Regions from separate parts of the Homo sapiens genome. Here region 2 is linked to region 1. The links are contacts of gene promoters, found by promoter capture Hi-C in blood cells and fetal thymus (Javierre and others, 2016). All regions are on one chromosome and are shown on one strand. The core of a region is centred on a gene start or on the middle of the fragment in contact, and the rest is flanking DNA. Distances in the headings are between cores, read along the strand shown. Region 1 holds the start of OXSM (3-oxoacyl-ACP synthase, mitochondrial). Region 2 holds the start of OXSR1 (oxidative stress responsive kinase 1).

Region 1 (2,785 bases), core at 101-2,600:
AACCACATGTGTTTGTTTTAATTCTTCAAGAAACTCTACTTTGTCACTGAATGAGGATCAACTAGAGGTGACTGGTTAGGCCTGGGACGAAGGTCAAACTGAGCTTTGCTGAATTATTTTAAACAAAATAGATTTCCAAACTCATTTAAATCCAGGACCAACCTGGAAAGCTAAGCTTGACTCACATTCTTCTGTAGGGGTAGGAAAGAATGCAGAGCACTCTACTTGGAAACAATGGCTTCAAGAGGCATTGCCCAGAAAAAACCATAAATATGACTAGAAGGTCCAGATGAAGATTCTATGCTCAACCATTTTTCTAAAGAAGAGCAAGGACAAAACTCACGCCTGGGATAGCATGTGAAAAACAGATGTTCGATGAATACCATCTTGTCGACTTCTTGCTTTTTTACATTTTCATGTTATATTTTCCCTTTATCGGTTTGCAGTCAGCTCTAAGCAAACAGTTAATGAATTTTTCACACTTAGAAACAAATGTCTCCATTGTGACAATGGAGACAATTTTTGAGCACTGTCTCAAATCTGGTGATAATTTTTTTTTAAGTGAAAGGAAGTTTATTAGGAAAGTAAAGGAACAAAGAATGACTACTCCATAGGCAGAACAGCCTGGTGACAACTTTTAAAAAGTAAAAACTTTATTACAAAAACATTTGTTTATTGTAGAAAAGCTTTATTAAATAAAGCTAAGCAAAAATAAGGAGGGAAAGATCACAATCAGTATACATCTTGCAGACCTTTAAAGAATTATTTTTGAAAAAACGGATATATACTGTTTTGTAACTATGTCTCCTAACAAATAGTCGCAACATCTCATTAATAAATATTCACCTGCAGAATTATTTTAAACGGCTGCATGGCATTTGGATGTACCACAAGATACACAACAAATTTCCTGATGTTGGCCATTTTGGTTAATTCCACTTTACTCACAATTACTAATAACGTTGCGAGCTATAGCAATAACTTTGAAACTGCAGAGAATTTCCTTAATTCTTTCTTACAATTCCAGTAGAATACGATGGTGTCCCTTCTCCGACAAAAGGGAATATTTGGGCATTATCACTGCCAAAGAAAAATGCCTTTTTGATGGGTGAAAATGCTACCTCATCGCGTTATTGGCAGGTCCTCGATTATCGGCGAGTCACTGAGGTTCCGAGAGGGGCGTCTCTGCTCACGCAAACAGCTACCCAGCCGCCTCCCACGGTCTGACCTCAGCCAAGGTGACGCGGCTTAAAGTCAACCGGCGGAAAGAGAGTCGAACGGGACGCGTGCGTGGGAAAGCGCATGAGCGTACGTGCGAGCGCGCATGAGCGTACGTGCGTGTGCGCGTGCGCTCGAGAGCGTCATCGCCCCCGACTGTGGAGAAGTGTCCGGGGTAGCCCCGTTACAGGTATCGCTGGCTACCCTCCTCCTTCGCCCCTCCTTTCCTCCTTTACATTCAAATCAAGTCGGGGTTGAATTTCGAGAGGGGAGTCCGAGGACCTGGGGCCTGATTTCTTTTTCTCTCGCCATGCTTCTTCGGGCTGTGTACATGTGTGGTGGTGCCTGAGAGGCGATACAGGGAATGGCTACACTCTTTTACTCCCGCCCCTGGCCTTCGTAGTACCCTTGAAGTGATCCACTAGTCGTAACCCCTCCTTCCACCAATGATTCAATTGGAGAAGTTTAGAGGAGTGGAAAGACTTGTCCCCTTCCCCCATCGCAAGCTTGGTCACAGAGTGTATTGCCAACCCATGTATCCAGACGCTCAGTCTAGGGCTCTTGGCCCTGGGTAGCGTTTTGAAAAGGCTGGTTATCCTTAAGTACTGAAGATTGATAAAGCCCACTTACTTACTTAAAAGAATATGCCCTGAAATGTGTTTTCTGTGCCACTGACACCAGAAATGCTATTTAGAAGAAGTTATCAGTAATCCTGACAAAGGATGCTTCCTGCAGCTCAAATCAGGCTGGAGGTGCCTTTATATTTTTCATTGAATTACTGTTTTGGTGACTCGAATGAATCATCAATTCATTTATTTGTCTTCAAATGTCTGACGGCACTTAAGGTCTAAAAAAGAAGGTAAGTTTAAACAGATAGTTTGATGTTAAGGTATAAATTGAAAGTATGTAACATTTTCCCTGTGTTCATTAGCAGCTCATATCAAGCACCCAAAGGAACACCTTGGATGTTTTTCCTTAGGCCCTTAAGCTATTTAAAAGAATACCTCCTAGGTGTGTTGTGGTCTTTTACAGGAATGTGTTTCTGATCATCTGAATCTTAATCATGTCCAACTGCCTGCAAAATTTCCTGAAAATTACAAGCACTCGTCTTCTATGTTCAAGATTATGCCAACAGTTAAGAAGTAAAAGGAAGTTTTTCGGAACTGTGCCAATATCCAGATTGCATAGGCGAGTTGTCATTACAGGCATTGGCTTAGTGACTCCTCTTGGTGTTGGAACTCACCTGGTTTGGGATCGTCTTATCGGAGGAGAGAGTGGAATTGTTTCACTGGTTGGTGAAGAGTATAAGAGTATCCCTTGCAGTGTTGCTGCTTATGTGCCAAGAGGTAGTGATGAAGGTCAGTTCAATGAACAAAACTTTGTGTCCAAATCAGATATCAAGTCCATGTCTTCTCCCACCATCATGGCCATTGGGGCTGCAGAATTAGCCATGAAGGATTCTGGCTGGCATCCTCAGTCAGAAGCTGATCAAGTGGCTACTGGTGTTGCAATTGGCATGGGAATGATTCCTCTTGAAGTTGTTTCTGAAACTGCTTTGAATTTTCAG
Region 2 (2,785 bases), core at 190-2,689, about 12 Mb after region 1:
TTTCCATGGTTGAGGGCCTGCAGGCCCTAAAAGGGGTCCCTGCTCCGTCTCAGCTGGGCCTAGGTGAAGGTCTCTTCCTTTTTCTGAGACGGTGTCTCCGTCTGTTGCCCAGACTGGAGTGCAGTGGCATGCTCTCGGGTCACTGCAACCTTCGCCTCCTGCTTCAGCCTCCCTAGTAGCTGGGATTACAGGCGCCAGCCACCACGCCCAGCGATTTTTCTGTATTTTAGTAGAGAGGGAGTTTCACCATGTTGGTCAGGATGGTCTCGAACTCCTGACCTCAGGTGGTCCGCCCGCCTCCGCCTCCCAAAGTGTTGGGATTACAGGCGTGAGCCACCGCACCCGGCCTAAGGTCTCTTCCTTAAAGACTGCCGTTGGACTGAAAGGTGTCCAACCTAGAACAGTTTCGCACCTAGCCCTATCCCTGTTGGATGCTCATTATTTTTTAAAATCCAATTTACCAAGCGTGTTCAGTCTTCAGCTCGCTAATTTCTCTAACGGCCGTACGTAGTCAAACTGAGAAAACTGTTCAGTGGGGGCGACAAAAGCCAACGCCCGTGAGACAACCCCCAAATCCGTGGGTCGATCTCACTTGTTTAATACCCCAAGCCCTGTCCGGGGGGAAGAAAGACAACCTCCCGAGTCCCTCAAGGCAGGTGCTTATTTGAGCTTCAGATCTAAAGCTGCGAATGGACAGAACCCGCCCAGTGCAGGGTGGACCCGCGAGAGACAGCGCCGCGACAAGCGTTAGAGAGAACGTCCGCCTTGAAAAAAATGTCACCAGGCAAACTTCCAGTTTCACTCCGACCAGTGGCCCAAGGCCTTTTATCCTAGTTGGCAGTGGTCCACACCCAAAGGCTACCCCACCCAGCCGCTCCCTCAGGGTTTCTCCACACCCTGTAGAGCCTTTCGCACGTCTCGAGGGTGTGACGGTTACGCCGTGACGTCACTCCAGAGGAAGTGGTAAGACGAGCGCGGTAACGGAGCTCTTGAAGGGCTGCAGCCCTAACACGGAGAAGCGCGCTAAGAGCCTGGAGGCGGGACCAATTTATGACTGACGTCTACCCACACCCATTGCTTTTCTGATTCCTTCTCAAACAAACCAATGAATGCGACGACGGAGACAGCAGCGTGCCCCAGGCGCTAGAAGTGGCTCTGCCCCTTCTACTTTGCTGCCCTTTGGTCGCCATGCTTAGTGTGGCTACTGCCTCTGTGCTACTTGAGGCTCTCCTACGGCTTTTCGATGCCTTCGATGAACCTCTACCTAAGCACTTCTTCCCTTTCACCGCGAACTCCTACCTTCTCGGGTTTCTAGCTTGCTCACTTTACATCCAGCCACACTGGAGATGGCGGCCGGAGGCGGGCCCGAGGTGGGGCGTGACCAGCGCAGTGACGTCAGCGCGCTGCGTGTCGGCAGGTGGAGGAAGAGGGGAAAGTTTGGCCCGTGCGTGGGGCTGGGGTGGAGGGCGGGACAGAGGGGCTGGGCCCAGGCAAAGCTTCTGTCGCTGCTGCTGCGGAGGCCGAGGACAGGACGTGGGCTGGGCCGGGCAGTGCCGGACTCGGAGGAGCAGGAGGCGAGGTCCGCCGGAGCTCTGAGCCCCCGCTGCTCTGCCGCGCGGTGACCCCGCGCCCCGGCGCCGTCCGACCCGTGGCTGTTCCGAGACGATTGGTGGGGGCGCGGCGGCGGCGGCGGCGGCTGTTGGGGGTGGGGAGACGCGCGGCGAGGAGACGAGCGAGGTCAGCGAGTTTGAGGGAGGACCGCGAGCCGCTGCCGCCGTCATGTCCGAGGACTCGAGCGCCCTGCCCTGGTCCATCAACAGGGACGATTACGAGCTGCAGGAGGTGATCGGTGAGAGCAGGCGCTGCGGAGGGGGGAGGCGCGGCGCTGGGAGGCGGGGGACACGGGAACGTGGGGAGCCGCGGGAGCTCGGGGAGCGCAGCCCTCATAGGAATTCGTGGGGCGCTTGTGGGGCTGGGGGCTTGTAGGACGCTTGTGTCGAGGAGCGCGTGTGAGACGGGAAGGGGGTTTTGAGGCGCGCGCCTGTGAGGTGGCGTGGGGTGGGGTGAGGCTTGAGGGGGCTCAGGAGAGATTTGTGTACAGGATTCTCAAATGTGTGGACAGGAGCGGCCCATGTGTCTTGTAGAGAAAGAAAGTGCAGGTGTGGGACAGGCCTTTCCGAGGCTGTGTGAGAAATGGGATCTTGAAGTGGGCACAGCCATCGATTTCTGGGATTGTGGGATAGATAGGGAGCTTTAAGTTTTTCCTCCATCCGTGCTGGGGCGAACTGGGGATCCTCCAGGTGAAGCTGCAGGAACCGCGCTGAGCAACCGAGACCCAACTTACGACTCCTTCCAACTGACTTTCCAGTCGGGGAGGTAGACATTAAATAAGAAGACAAAAAGAAGTAAGAAGGGCTGGGCGTGGTGGCTCACGCCTGTAATCCCACCACTTTGGGAGGCCGAGGCGGGCGGATCACGAGGTCGGGGGTTCGAGACCAGCCTGGCCAATATGGTGAAACCCCGTCTCTACTAAAAATACAAAAATTAGTTGGGTGTGGTGGTGCGCGCCTGTAATCCCAGCTACTCGGGAGGCTGAGGCAGAAGAATCCTTGAACCCGGGAGGCGGAGCTTGCAGTGAGCTGAGATCGCGCCACTGCACTCCAGCCTGGGCGACAAACCCTGACTCTGACTCAAAAAAAAAAAAAAAAAAAAAAAAATTTGAAGAGGCTTTGGCAAGTGCCATGAAGGAGATAAACAAGATGTTCTGATAGAGAATAACCTGGAG

The links. Contacts are between HindIII fragments. The CHiCAGO score rates a contact against its expected background, and 5 or more counts as called.
Region 2: a contact is called between the fragment with the promoter of OXSR1 here and the fragment with the promoter of OXSM in region 1, in 3 of 17 cell types (activated CD4 T cells, total B cells and naive CD8 T cells). The highest score is 19.3, in activated CD4 T cells.

What each region holds. Positions count from the first base shown.
Region 1 is chr3:25,788,740-25,791,524 of GRCh38, forward strand. OXSM (3-oxoacyl-ACP synthase, mitochondrial) reads left to right here and starts at 1,351. Exons shown (of 3, transcript NM_017897.3): 1 at 1,351-1,408; 2 at 2,251-2,785. The coding sequence starts at 2,282. It also overlaps a transcript of NGLY1 not described here. RefSeq lists enhancers at 830-1,359, 1,499-1,568, 1,579-1,648 and a silencer at 1,177-1,396. The HindIII fragment of the contact is 1,038 bases long and covers 685-1,722 here.
Region 2 is chr3:38,164,098-38,166,882 of GRCh38, forward strand. OXSR1 (oxidative stress responsive kinase 1) reads left to right here and starts at 1,440. Exons shown (of 18, transcript NM_005109.3): 1 at 1,440-1,849. The coding sequence starts at 1,780. LOC101928234 (a long non-coding RNA gene) reads right to left here and starts at 1,379. Exons shown (of 5, transcript XR_940733.2): 1 at 1,300-1,379. RefSeq lists enhancers at 115-1,314, 475-554, 705-834, 1,105-1,204, 1,598-2,213 and silencers at 1,445-1,834, 1,885-1,934. The HindIII fragment of the contact is 1,868 bases long and covers 1-1,494 here.